Linked DNA regions of Homo sapiens: regions 1 and 2 are each linked to region 3. The links are contacts of gene promoters, found by promoter capture Hi-C in human tissues and cell types (Jung and others, 2019). All regions are on one chromosome and are shown on one strand. The core of a region is centred on a gene start or on the middle of the fragment in contact, and the rest is flanking DNA. Distances in the headings are between cores, read along the strand shown. Region 1 overlaps UBAP2 (ubiquitin associated protein 2). Region 2 overlaps UBAP2 (ubiquitin associated protein 2). Region 3 holds the start of UBAP1 (ubiquitin associated protein 1).

Region 1 (4,360 bases), core at 1,244-3,743, 260 kb after region 3:
GGACACCACCTCTGCTGGATACAGTCTTTCCTGTTGCTGGAGGAAGAGGCTTTCTCCCTTGTGCAGTGATGCCTTCTTCCCCGTGGGTGTTGCTCCCTTCTCTGCTGCACCACAAAGAGCTGACGGAGCTGCTCTTGTTTCAGAAGAGTAGCCCTTTCCACTGGCTGGCCGTATTTCCAGAAGCAGAGGCCTAGCCTGGGAGCGGAGCGGCTTCTCCCCACTGTGCAAACCAGCAGCCCTTTAATCTGCCGGCCAAAGGCCCAAACTGCAGGAGGTGGTGCTGAGCCCCGGGATTCATTCTGCTTCAGGGGCTCTCCGTGGTCTCCACACTTATTCACAGCACTCTTTTGGCTTTTATCACTTTGTGCCTTAGAGAAAACACCCTCTGGAGCCCACCTTTTGAGATATGTTGCTCTTTCTATCCCTCGGGTTGTTTGTTCACCTCTGCTGCTTGTGAGCCTAGTTCCTGCCTGGAGAATTCTCGTGTTCTGTGAAAGTGCTCCCCCTTCTGGGCTTTCTCTGCTCCCGTCCTCAGTTGTGCAGCTCTGTGTGTTCCCAGCTCTGCCTCTTCCGGGGGTTCTAGGCTGCTATGGGTTTCCGGGAGGTTTCCTGGAGGGTGTGAGTGCCATTCCCAGCCAGGATGGCTCCTTTCTGGGATCGGGCACAGCCCAAGGGCTTTGCCTTTCCTCAGGGGCCAGGTGTGTCCAGGAGTGCGAGGCCCTGGATGGTGAGTGAGGGTCAGGTCAGACCTCCCCTCCTCCACGAAGCTCCACTGTGCTTTGCCGTCTCTGTCTCCACACTTTGTTGTATCTGCCATACTTCCCCCAAGTCCTGGGCCAGGGGTGTCCAATGTTTTGGCTTCCTTGGGCCACATTGAAAGAATAATTGTCTTGGGCCACACATAAAATACACTAACATTAAAGATAGCTGATGAGCTTAAAAAAATTGCAAACAAATTTCATGTTTTAAGAAAGACGAATTTGTGTTGGGCCACATTCAAAGCTGTCATGGGCCGTGGGTTGGACAAGCTTGTCCTAGGCCATGTCAGTGTTTTGAGAGCAGTGTAGGTGGTGACAGGCCAGTTCTGGGCTTCACCTGGGGTCCTGCTTATTCCCGTGCCTACCTGGCACTGCCCCCTGTCCCCCCTTAAACCTTTCAGGCCCCTGCACTTCTGTTGCCTCCTTTTTCAGGTCTGCTCTGTTTAGTCAGCTTTCCTAGCTGCTCTAGTCTCTCACACAGAAAAGCCAGCGAAGTTGGTTCAGCCCGAGGCATTCACACAAGCACCTGCCTGTGGTGTCAAATGGATGTGTGAGGCTTGGTCTCCAGCAGCTCTGCCTGGTGAAGCTGCAGGGTTGGCCGGTCTGTGTGCTTATGTGTTAGGCAGGCCGCCTAGTTGCACACTCTTCCGAGGGGCACCATTTACTTGGCGTTCCCTGGGACTGCTGGCTCTCAGGCATGGAGTCTGTTTCAGGAGTGTGGCGTCACCACTTCCATGTGCTGGTTCTGCTCTCCTGGGAGTCAAGCAGGGCCAGTCGCTGATCAAGCCTCCCTGGTCTCTCCTAGGACTACTATGGAATTCCCTTTGCTGCACCCACAGCGCTTGCCAGCCGAGATGGGAGCCTAGCTAATAATCCATATCCAGGTGAGTTTGCTCAATGGATGAGGAGTAGCCCGGGGCCGGCCTAGCGCGAACTCCAGGAGCTGGGAAGCAGCAACAGCAAGCTGAGAGAGGCCTCTTAGTAGCCTGTGCTGAGCTGGCAGCCAGACCTGTTCCTGTTTGCAGAAGCCAGTGTGGCCTTTCTCTGGTTGGAGGAAGGGCAGTGGCTGGAGTCAGTGCTCTTTCCTAGGTGATGTCACAAAGTTTGGCCGTGGGGACTCTGCATCCCCTGCACCCGCTACCACACCAGCTCAGCCACAGCAGAGCCAATCACAGACCCACCACACAGCCCAGCAGCCCTTCGTGAATCCTGCACTGCCACCTGGCTATAGCTACACTGGTCTTCCCTACTACACAGGCATGCCCAGTGCCTTCCAGTATGGCCCCACCATGTTTGTGAGTATTTCAGAGGGTGTGACTGTGTCTCCTGGCCTTGGGTTGCTGGCAGGTGGAAACCTGGGACCTATCTTCCAGCAGGGAGGGAGGGTTGTGATTCCACTCCGTCTTACCTGGTCTTCAGAAACTGTTCAGGCTGGGGACAAGGTCACTTTTCCCCTGCTGTGTTTAGATCCAGCATGTGTTGCACTAATGAAAACACAGGTCCCCTGTGGTTGTGGGTATGTCACCTGCTGCCTTAGGCTCTGGCAGGGGTACCTGACCAGCCTCAGCTTGCCTCTTCCTACACTAATACCTCATCTGCTTGCCCCCCCAGGTCCCTCCAGCCTCAGCCAAGCAACATGGGGTGAACCTCAGCACTCCCACACCTCCCTTCCAGCAGGCCAGTGGTTATGGCCAGCACGGCTACAGTACAGGTGAGGGGTACTTCCCAGACAGAGACACATGGGGTTAGACAGGCTTGCCTGGCTCACACTTGCCTCTTGTACCCTGCCACGCTAGGTTATGACGACCTGACCCAGGGGACAGCAGCAGGAGACTACTCCAAAGGTGGCTATGCTGGATCATCGCAGGCACCAAACAAGTCTGCAGGTTCTGGGCCTGGCAAAGGTAGTGTTTACCTCTCCTTTCCAGGATAAGGCCTGGAGTGGTGGGCTCCTGCCTGATCCCCTCTCAGGCAGGGCAACCCCTGAGTGATCCTGGAGGTGGGGAGCCTGGAGCTGGGAACAACTGCTGTGGGGAACAACTGCTTTTCCTCCTAGGAGTATCAGTGTCTTCAAGCACCACTGGTCTACCTGATATGACTGGTTCTGTCTACAATAAGACACAGGTGAGGGACAAAGGTGGGTTGGGTGTATAGGTTTTTGAGAGGTTACAGCCCAACCTGACCTTCACCATTGTCTTCTTTGCCCTGTAGACTTTTGACAAGCAGGGATTTCATGCAGGGACGCCTCCACCTTTCAGCCTGCCCTCGGTCTTGGGCTCCACTGGGCCCCTGGCCTCGGGAGCGGCCCCTGGCTATGCACCCCCACCATTCCTACACATCTTGCCAGCCCACCAGCAGCCCCACTCACAGCTGCTGCACCACCACCTTCCGCAGGATGCACAGGTGAGTACAGTGATGGAGGCAGCCACCCTACTCTGGGCCAGGGGTTCTGCTCCAGCCTTGACAGCCTTCCCTTCTCCTCTTCCTCAGAGTGGCTCGGGTCAGCGCAGCCAGCCCAGCTCCCTGCAGCCCAAGTCTCAAGCCTCCAAACCTGCCTACGGCAACTCTCCATACTGGACAAACTAAACCCAGAAGAGAGGGGTGGGCTGGGGCAAGGCTTATCCTGGGCAGGAGAGAACACACGAGCACGTATTTGGGAGCCCAGTGCCCTTTCCTAGAATTCCCGACATGTGTCAGCCATGCCTCTGTGGGGAGTCTGCCTCCCAGACTGGCTACTGTATGTAATGTATTTATGTATGTATTTGTAAATGTGATAGAAGTCTGGGGGGGAGTTGGGGGATGGCGGCAGATGTTAGCCAGGTCTGCCCTCCCCATTCAAGCCCCTTCTCCACTGTAGCAAAATAAGCACCCCCACCCCATCTGCCTTCAGGTCTTCTTCACAGCCTGCACTGCCCAGTGGGCCACTAGGGGCAGTCTCTGGAAGGGCTGGTTCAAGGCTGTTTGGGTATAGGGGTCAGGTACCAATGAAGAATCACGACTTGTCTCACTCCTTTGGAAATTGTTTTCTTTCCTGTGTAATTACTTCATACCTCTGTTTTTGAGAAACTGTTCCGTTTGTCATCTGTCATGGTCTCCTTCCACCAAATCTTCATCTGGGAATAGCAGCGGTATCCCTCCACCCAAGTATGGCCACCTGTTTGTCTTCATATAGAACAGGGGCTTCTGGTCTGGTCATGTCCCTAGAGACTTACTAGAGACTGGCTGACCATGAAAAAAAAAAAAATAATCTGAGTTATTCAGCCAGTCAGCTCCCCTTTAAAAATCTAAGGTATCTCCAAGCAACACATCTCCATTCTAGTTGTCTTGAACCACGTGGGCAACTGTTTCAGGGGTTTTCTCTTGCCCAATCCCCACCTAATAAAGTTCTGAGAGCATGCATGGTCTCTGTGTGGTGTGACTGAAGGGCAGCTCAGGGCAGAAGCCCTGGACTTCACAGGGCTAAAGGAGATCCCACATGGTCATAGTCTTCTGACACAGGCTATAAAGGCTTGAAATGGTTTTCCTTTTTACTGGACCCTCTTGGCCCAAATCACAATGGCTGTAAGGACAGCTAAACCTCCTTACAGGGCCCAGGCCATGTT
Region 2 (4,537 bases), core at 1,527-4,026, 190 kb after region 3:
CTTTTCCCCCTAGTTAGAGGTGAAGAAAATGGAATTGATTGCAATCAAGTGGACAAACCTTCAGATCGTGGCAAGCGAGCCCGGGGTAGAGGTAAGCTAGAGTAAGAGGGAAGAAAATGCTTTCAATTAGGGGGAAGAAGCAGGCAGTTGCGTTGCTGGACTGTGACTAGGGATGGCAGTGTGTTCTGAAAGAATAGCAGGTCATCTAAAATCTGATCATTTGTTTACTGATGCCTGTAAATGAACTATTTTGGGTTATGTAGTTTTGAAGAAACCAAAGGGTTGTTTTTGGATGAGCTGAGAAAGCCCTATGAATAATTTAAAACTTAAAGCTCTAACCAAAAGCATTGACAAATTATAATTGTATTACGTTTGGAATACAATGCAATAGGGTTTTTTAAACCTTATTTTAAAAATACTTTATTGCTAAAAAAGGCTATGATCATTTGAGCTTTCAGTGAGTTGTAGTCTTTTTGCTCTAGTCCTCACTTCTAGCTATTTTGAAGTGTATAATACGTAATTGTTAAGTAGTCATCTTACTCTACTGTTGAACATTAGAACTTATTCCCTTTTTTTGAGACCCTGCCTGGCTAACACAAGGAAACCCTGTCTCTACCAAAAAATATAAAAAATAGCTAAGTGTGGTGGCACGCACCTGTAGTCCCAGCTACTTGAGAGGCTAAGGCAGGAGAATTGCTTGGACCCAAGAGGTGGAGGTTGCAGTGAGCCGAGATCTCCTCACTGCACTCCAGCCTGGGCAAGTGAGCAAGACTCTGTCTCAGAAAAAATACAAAATACAAAAAAATACAAAAATTATCCAGGCATAATTAAATGCAGGGTCTTACTTTGTCACCCAGGCTGGAGTGCAGTGGCATCATCTCAGCTAACTGCAACCTCCACCTCCTGGGCTCAAACAATCCTCCTACTTACCCTCCTGAGTAGCTGGGACTACAGGTGCACGCCACCATGCCCAGCTAATTTTTGTATTTTTGCTAGACATGGGGTTTTACCATGTTGGCCAGGCTGGTCTCAAACTCCTGGCCTCAAGTGATCCACCTGCCTAATCCTCCCAAAGCGGTAGGATTACAGGCATGAGCCACCGAGCCCGGCCTAGAATTTATTCCTTCTCTCTGTGTTTTAACCTATCCACCAATCTCTCTTTATTCCCCACCCTCTATACCCATCACCTTCTCTGCCTCTGGTAACTATCATTCCACTCTCTACCTGCATGAGATAACCTTTTTAGCTCCCACATGAGTGAGTACGTGTGATATTTATCTTTCTGTGTCTGGTTTATTTTATTTAACACAATGTCTTCCAAGTCCATTCATGTTGCTCCAAAGGACGTGATTTCATTCTTTTATGGCTGAGTAGTATTCCAACCTGTAAATATATCACTTTTTAAAATCCATTCATCTGTTGATGAACACTTAGGTTGATTCTCTATATTTGTGAATATTGTGAATAGTGCTTCACTTCAAAATAGCTAGAAGTGAGGACTTGAAAAGTTCCCAACACATAGAAATGATAAATGCTCATGGTAACGGATATCCTAAATACCTCAACTTGATAATTATATATTCTCTGCATGTAACAAAGTACCACATGTACCCCATAAATTTGTTTAAATATTATGTATCTGTAAAAAGTTAAAAATTAAAAAAAAATAGAAATTGCCACAGCCACCACAACCTGGCAAACATGAAGCACTATTGGTTTCCTTTTCTTTGTATAAATATCTGCTAATGGGATTGCTGGATCATACGGTAATTCAATTTTTTGTTTTTGATAAATCTCCATACTGTTTTCCAAAATGGCTGTACCAGTTTATATTCCCACCAATAGTGTATGAGAGTTCCCTTTTCCCTGTATCTTCACCAGCATCTGTTTAATTTGCTTAATTAGTTAAATGCAGTGTCATGATCATAACTCATTGCAGTCTTGAACTCCTGGGTTCAGGCAATCTTCCTGTTTCAGCCACCTCAGTAGTTGGGATTACAGGCTATTTTTTGTCTTTTTGATAATAGCCGTTCTAACTGGGGTAAGATGATATCTCATTGTGGTTTTCATTTGTATTTTATTGATGTTTAGTGATGAGCATTTTTTGTGTACCTTTTGGCCATTTGTATATTGTCTTTTTAGATCCTTTGTCTACTGTTTTTTTTTCTCTTAAGAGACAGTGTCTCACTCTGTTGCCCAGGCTGGAGTGCAGTGGCATGATCATAACTTACTGCAACCTTGAAATCCTGGGCTCAAGTGATACTTCCACCTCAGCCTCCTGAGCAGCTGGGACTATAGGCATGAGCCCCACCATGCCTGGCTAATTTAAAGAAAAAAAAAAATTTTTTTTTTAAGAGATGGGGTCTTGCAATGTTGCCCAGGTTGGTCTGGAACTCCTGGCCTCAAGCTGTCCTCCTACCTCAGTGTCCCAAATCTCAGGGATTACAGGTGTGAGCTACTATGCCCAGCTGTTTGCATACTTTTTAATGGGATTATTTATATTTTGGCTGTTGAGTTGTTTAGATTCCTTGTATTGTCTGAATATTAGTCCCTTTTCAGATGAATATCATCCTGCAAATTTCTTAGATGATACTTCCTTAATGCTGAGGCTAAATTGGAGACCATATTTTTAAATCCCAGGGATTCAGGCCGGGTGTGGTGGCTCATACCTGTAATCCCAGCACTTTGGGAGGCCAAGGTGGGCAGATCACTTGACATTAGTAGTTCGAGACCACCCTGGCCAACATGGTAAAACTCCATCTCTAATAAAAATACAAAAATTAGCTGGGCATGGTGGTGTGTGCCTGTAGTTCCAGCTACTCGGGACGCTGAGGCACGAGAACTGGGGGAAGTGGAGGCTGCAGTGAGCCGAGATTGTACCATTGCACTCTAGCCTGTGTGACAGAGTGATGCTCTGTCTCAAATAAAAAAATCCCAGGGATTCAGTATTATTCTAGGTAAAGTTTCTTGTCATATGCCACATAGTAAATTGGTAAAAACCAAGTATAATTCTGTCTTCCACAAGCTGAAACTGCTTAGTATTTTTTATATTTAGGACCAGGTTTCTGTAAAGTAAGTTTCAAACTTACTATTGTCAAAGATAGAAAGATGGCAACGAAGAGTGTTGGCACGTACACCTCTGCTAATTTATTAGGTCCTAAACCCTGAAGTACACACCTTGGGAAGAAAAAGAAAATAGAAGGTAACAAAAAGAAAGAATAAAATGACTTTATTGACCCCTAAATTTTACTGTGTCTCACCAGGGAGGGCGGTCACAGTATAAGACCAACGTTATGTGTGTGATTAGTCCTTACCACCCTGTTCTGGTTAAAATATCATTGTTCTGATATTCCTTTGTTCTTAAGGTTTTAGGAATACATAGTAACCCAGCTTCTTCCCCTCTTACCAGGGAGAGGGTTTTCTTTCCTAGGGTATTTGATCTCTCACATGCTTCTGCTGGCATTAGTGGGCGTCTTAGAGAAATCGTCAAATCTTCATGACTGAAATCCCACTACTGACTACACTGTTGAATCCTTTACTTTTACCCTTTGACAGTAGGAATCTAGTCACAGTATGTATTTGGATTGGTTGTTTAGAGACATGTTTAAGGATTACAAGCTGATCCATGTCATAAATCAGACAGATTTATTGTTATAAAAACACATTATAGGGGGGCCGGGCACCGTGGCTCACATCTGTAATCCCAGCACTTTTGGAGGCCGAGGCGAGCAGATCACGAGGTCAGGAGTTCGAGACCAGCCTGGCCATCATAGTGAAACCCTGTCTCTACTCAAAATACAAAAAAATTAGCTGGGTATGGTGGCATGTGCCTGTAGTCCCAGCTACTTGGAGGCCGGGGCAGAGAATTGCTTGAACCTGGGAGGCGGAGGTTGCTGTGAGCCGAGATCATGCCATGGCACTCCGGCCTGGGTGACAGTGAGACTCTGTCTCAAAAACAAAAAAAAAAAAACAAAAAAAAACACCACACATTATAGGGGATAACCAGTGAATTGGAGATTGAGTATCTGTTAGGATGGGTACTGTTATTACTTTGAGGAAAAAGTTGATATGTTTACCTTGGTTCTATTTAGACTAATAAACCCCAAATAAATAAAAGTTAACAGACCATGTAAAATCACCATAGTTTTTCTTAATCGCAAGTATGCTAGATAAATTCTGCAGGGGGTATGGTGTTTTATTTGACCTGTTCTTCCTATTCTTACTGGGACTGTATGGTGGCTGTTCATATAATTTTCTCATCAGTATATATACCGGTGAATAGGAACAGAATGCAAACAATCAAAAACATAGTCCATTTAAACTATCTGGGCGACAAAATGGGCACTTAATTTTACTGTCAAAATCTATTACGTTCGCTTTATATAAAAGCAGCTATGTAGGCAAACTACCTACCTATTTTTTATTTGTTTTGGTTTTTGTTCTTAGCTTGATCAGTTGGCCTTGCTGGATAGTAAGTTGTCGTAAGTGTGGAGCAGAGTTTGCATTCAAGCTGGAGCCACTTGAAAAATCATTCCTA
Region 3 (4,611 bases), core at 784-3,283:
CACTTTCGGAGACCAAGGCCGGAGGATTATTTGAGGTCAGAAGTTCGAGACCAGCCTGACCAACATGGTGAAACCCCGTCTCTACTAAAATACAAAAATTAGCCAGCCGTAGTGGTGGGTGTCTATAATCTCAGCTACTCGGGAGGCTGAGGCAGGACAGTCACTTGAACCCAGGAGGCGGAGGTTGCAGCAAGCCAAGATCGCGCCACTGCACTCCAGCCTGGGCAACAGACCGAGACTCCCTCTGGAAAAAAATAAAAAGAAACAAAAAAAAAAAAAAGTTTTTTTTCCAATGAGGTTCTAGCAGGTTAGTAAAGTTATCTGCTGTGCAATGACAGCGATGGTCACTCACTAAAGAAACATTAAGTTTAGCATTTCTGTAATTATAATGACTCTTATTATTGCAACACACAGTAGCTATTTAATAAACACCATGAATTAATAGAACTAGAAACAAAAATTTAATAAAATTTCACTTATAGTAAGTTAATGCGGACAATGTAATTCTTTTAAGACTTGACACATTTCACATTCTTTGCCATAATACGTAAACTTTTTTTTTTTTTTTGAGTCGGAGTCTCGCTCTGTTGCCCAGGCTGGAGTGCAATGCAGCGATCTAGGCTCACTGCTACCTCCGCCTCCCAGGTTCAAGCCATTCTCCTGCCTCGGCCACCCGAGTAGCTGGGATTACAGGCGCCTGCCACCACGCCCGGCTGGCTTTTTAGTAGAGAAAGGGTTTCAACATGTTGGTCAGGCTGGTCTTGAACTCTTGACCTCGTGATCCGCCCGCCTCGGCCTCCCAAAGTGCTGGGATTTCAGACGTGAGCCACAGCGCCCGGCCAATACGGAAACTTTTAGTTTAGGTTGGGACATTAACTAGAAAGAACTATATATCACTAAAGACTAAGTATCTTGTTTTTCCCACCATCAAATCTGACAAAATTAAAAAGGAAAACATCCATCATATCTATTCAAATTCTCAAATGCTAATAACTGAAGAGACAAAGCACTAACGAGTAAAGTTAGAACAGAATATACGTAATACTTAACTAAATTACCAAATCTGGTTTCGCAACACTGCATGGTGACTAAAAGTAACAATTTTTTTTTCAGTTTAACATAAAACGTATTTTTATGCCCAACCATACTTTTAAGACGCTAGTCTGGAAACAATTACATTTGGCAACAAAGGTCAAAGATCACTGATATAGCTCAAATAAATGAACCTGACGTTCCACAAGAAAGACTGGGGCGGTTCCTGAGGCCCAGGTGGACTGTATAGGTAAGCCTCCACCCAAGAAACAAAAAAGGCGGATAAACATACCTGGAGAAGACCAGACAAGGCCAAAGATATCCCCAAAGATCACTCACCTCTGGTCTAGTCTCCACCTTTTCTCCCCAATCTCATTGCCTCAGGGAGAACTAAATCTACACCGCACGTCCCCAGCTCACCCTCAACTCCCCACCACTCACCTTCTTTACTAAAATCTGGGTCCCCCTCCCTGACATCCTCTAGTTCCCACCGAGTTCTCAGTCCAGCCCGATAGATGTCTACTATGCCTGTCTTCCAGTAGGGTATTAGTCTCCTTAATCCGAACTCATTTTTCCGCATCCCACTTCCCCTCCGCCCCTTCAACTCCGGTCCCCTCACTCCGACCCTTCTCCCAGAATCCTCCCCGAATCGCGGATCTCCGGCCACTTTTCCCTCCCACCTCCTAGCTCCGGCGCCCTTCACCTCGCTCGGCCCCCCATCCCGTTTCCCAGTCTCCCAGTACCAGCCCCCCTCCCCCAACTCCGCCCCTCTTCCCCCTCCCCCAGAGGGAGGCCCCCCTCACCTGAATGCCGCTGCTGCCGCCGTCTCAGAAGCCGAAAGGTGCTGGCACCGGCCGGCCTCCCAGGCTCGGTCCCCGCTGAGCTCCCGACAGCCCCTAGGGAGAGCGAACGCCACCACCTCCAACTCTGCCCGCTCCGGGCCAGGCCGTCACCGTAGCCACCGCCAGTGCCGCAGCCGCCATGTTGAAGTCCTACTTCCCTCCTCCTTCCCCTCACCGCCCCACTCATTTGGGCGTCTGACGTCATGGCGCCGCGCTCCACACGCCCGGACCAATGGGAGGAGCCGACGGTGACATAACTAATCTCTCTTCTAGCGAGGAGCTACTCCGGCAACATGGAGCATTGCAATTGGAATGAGTAAACCCTGCTGACCTAAGGGGGAAGGAGGAAAGGAGGGGGTCACTAAGAGTGTAAGACTTGGGTTTGGCGAGGCGGCCAAAGCGGGAAACCCAAGAGCCTTGAATCGCGAAGGTATGCCCAAAGAGTTAGCAGCGAGTCCTATTTGGGAATTAAGACATCTAGCTTCTGTTCAGGGTCAGCGACCTGGTACAACTCATACCCTTTCTGGACCTCACTTTTCCCATGTATAGAGGACTAAGTTGAAAGGTGACTTCTAGGCCGGGCGCAGTGGCTCACGCCTGTAACTCCAGCACTTTGAGAGGCCGAGGCAGGAGGGTCGCTTGAGCCCGGGAGGTCGAGGCTGCGGTAGCCGTGATCGCGCCACTGCACTCCAGGTGGGCAACGGAACGCGACTCTGTATCAAAAGAAAAAAAAACAAAGGTGACCTCTAAGTCTTCCTTCAATTCTGACATTCTATGGGTTTAAACCAGGTAATCCTATCCCAAGCCTTCACTGCCTTCTGTGGGGGTTTTTGTTGTTGTTGTTGTTTCTGTTTGGGGTGTTTTTTGTTTTTTTGAGACAGGGTCTCGCTCTGTCGCCTAGGCTGGAGTGCAGTGGCGCGATGTTGGCGCACTGCAACCCTGCAACCTCCACCTGTCGGGCTCAAGTGATCCTCCCACCTCAGCCTTCTGAGTAGCTTGGACTATAGCCACATGCCAACACGCCCGGATAATTTTTATTATTTTATATATATATATGGAGAGACGGGGTCTCACCATGTTGCCCAGGCTGGTGGTAAACTTCTGGGCTCAAGCCTCAGTCTCCCAAATTGCTGGGATTGTAGGCGTGAGCCATGGCGCTGGCCTTCTGTGTCTTTCTATGTCTGCTGGAATTAGGAGACAGAGAATTATTAATTGAATAAGATGACTCTTGAGCCCAGGAGTTCAAGACCAATTTAAGCAACATGAGACCCCCGTCTCTACAAAAAGTTTGGTAAAAATTAGGTGAGCCTGGGCAACATAGTGAGACCTTGTCTCTACAAAAACTCAAATTATCTGGGCGTGGTGGCATGTGCCTGTGGTCCTAACTATTCAGGAGGCTGAGATAGGAGGATCACTTGAGCCTGAGAGGTCGAGGCTACAGTGAGCCAGGATTGTGCTGGTGTACTCCAAACATGGGTGACAGAGCAAGATCTTGTCGCAATAAAATAAAATAAAATAAAATGACTAGGCACGATGGCTAACGCCTGTAATCCCAGCACTTTGGGAGGCCAAGATGGTCAGATCTCTTGAGCTCAGGAGTTTGAGACCAGCCTGGGCAACGTGGAGAATCTTCATCTCTAACAACAACAAAAAACAGTTGGGCATGGTGGTACACGACTGTAGTCCCAGCTATTGGGTTCTGCAAATGAGACCCTGTCTAAAAATAAAATAAAATTGTAAAAAATTAGCCAGACATGGTTGTACACATCTGTGGTCCCAGCTAGTCAGGAGGCTGAGGTGAGAAAATGGCCTCAGCCTGGGAGGTTAAGGCTGCTGTGAGCAATGATCATGCCATTGCACTCTAGCCTGGGCAACAGAGCAAGACTCTGTCTCAAAAAAAAAAAAAAAAAAAAAACAAGGTCGGGTGTGGTGGCTCACGCCTGTAATCCCAGAACTCTGGGAGGCTGAGGCAGGCAGATCATCTGAGGTCAGGAGTTTAAGACCAGCCTACCCAACATGGTGAAACCCCATCTCTACTAAAAATACAAAATAAAAATTAGCTAGGTGGGCGCCTGTAATCCCAGCTATGTGGGAGGCTGAGGCATGAGAATCGCTTGAACCCAAGAGGAGGAGGTTACAGTGAGCGAGATCAAGCCACTGCACTCCAGCCTGGGTGACAAAGCCAGACCCTGTCTCAAAAAAAAAAAAAAAAAAAAAAGTCTGGGCGCAGTGGCTCATGCCTATAATCCCAGGACTTTGGGAGGCCAAGGCAGGTGGATAACCTGAGGTGAGGAGTTCGAGAGCAGCCTGGCCAACATGGTGAAACCCCATCTCTACTAAAAATTCAAAAATTAGCTGGGCGTGATGGTGGCAGCTGTAATCCTAGCTATTCAAGAGGCTGAGGCAGAAGAATCACTTGAACCTGGGAGGTGGAGGTTGCAGTGAGGTGAGGTTGCGCCACGTCACTCCAGCCTAGGTGACAGAGCAACACTCTGTCTCAGAAAAAAAAAAAAGGCCAGGCACAGTGGCTCATGCCTGTAATCCCAGCACTTTGGGAGGCCGAGGCGGGCAGATCACATGAGGTCAGGAGTTCAAGACCAGCCTGACCAGCATGGAGAAACCCCGTCTCTACTAAAAATACAAAAAAAATTAGCTAGGTGTGGTGGCAAATGCCTGTAATCCCAGCTACTTGGGAGGCTGAGGCAGGAGAATTGCTTGAGCCCAGGAGGCAGAGATT

The links. Contacts are between HindIII fragments. The study calls those that stand out against the background at their distance.
Region 1: a contact is called between a fragment that was not itself captured here and the fragment with the promoter of UBAP1 in region 3, in 1 of the 25 tissues and cell types used here (dorsolateral prefrontal cortex).
Region 2: a contact is called between a fragment that was not itself captured here and the fragment with the promoter of UBAP1 in region 3, in 2 of the 25 tissues and cell types used here (dorsolateral prefrontal cortex and heart left ventricle).

The regions. Positions count from the first base shown.
Region 1 is chr9:33,921,488-33,925,847 of GRCh38, reverse strand. It overlaps UBAP2 (ubiquitin associated protein 2), which reads left to right. Exons shown (of 29, transcript NM_001370062.2): 23 at 1,564-1,642; 24 at 1,848-2,053; 25 at 2,370-2,469; 26 at 2,555-2,662; 27 at 2,815-2,882; 28 at 2,970-3,161; 29 at 3,249-4,155. The coding sequence ends at 3,344. Among named protein-coding and RNA genes, the nearest start is that of SNORD121B, 11 kb to the left of the region's middle. RefSeq lists an enhancer at 493-732. The HindIII fragment of the contact is 6,345 bases long and covers 1-4,360 here.
Region 2 is chr9:33,982,314-33,986,850 of GRCh38, reverse strand. It overlaps UBAP2 (ubiquitin associated protein 2), which reads left to right. Exons shown (of 29, transcript NM_001370062.2): 6 at 14-91. Among named protein-coding and RNA genes, the nearest start is that of SNORD121A, 32 kb to the right of the region's middle. The HindIII fragment of the contact is 4,647 bases long and covers 453-4,537 here.
Region 3 is chr9:34,176,465-34,181,075 of GRCh38, reverse strand. It overlaps UBAP1 (ubiquitin associated protein 1), which reads right to left and starts at 2,033. Exons shown (of 7, transcript NM_016525.5): 1 at 1,836-2,033. RefSeq lists enhancers at 111-1,068, 1,069-2,025, 1,791-2,220, 2,026-2,984. The HindIII fragment of the contact is 11,539 bases long and covers 1-4,611 here.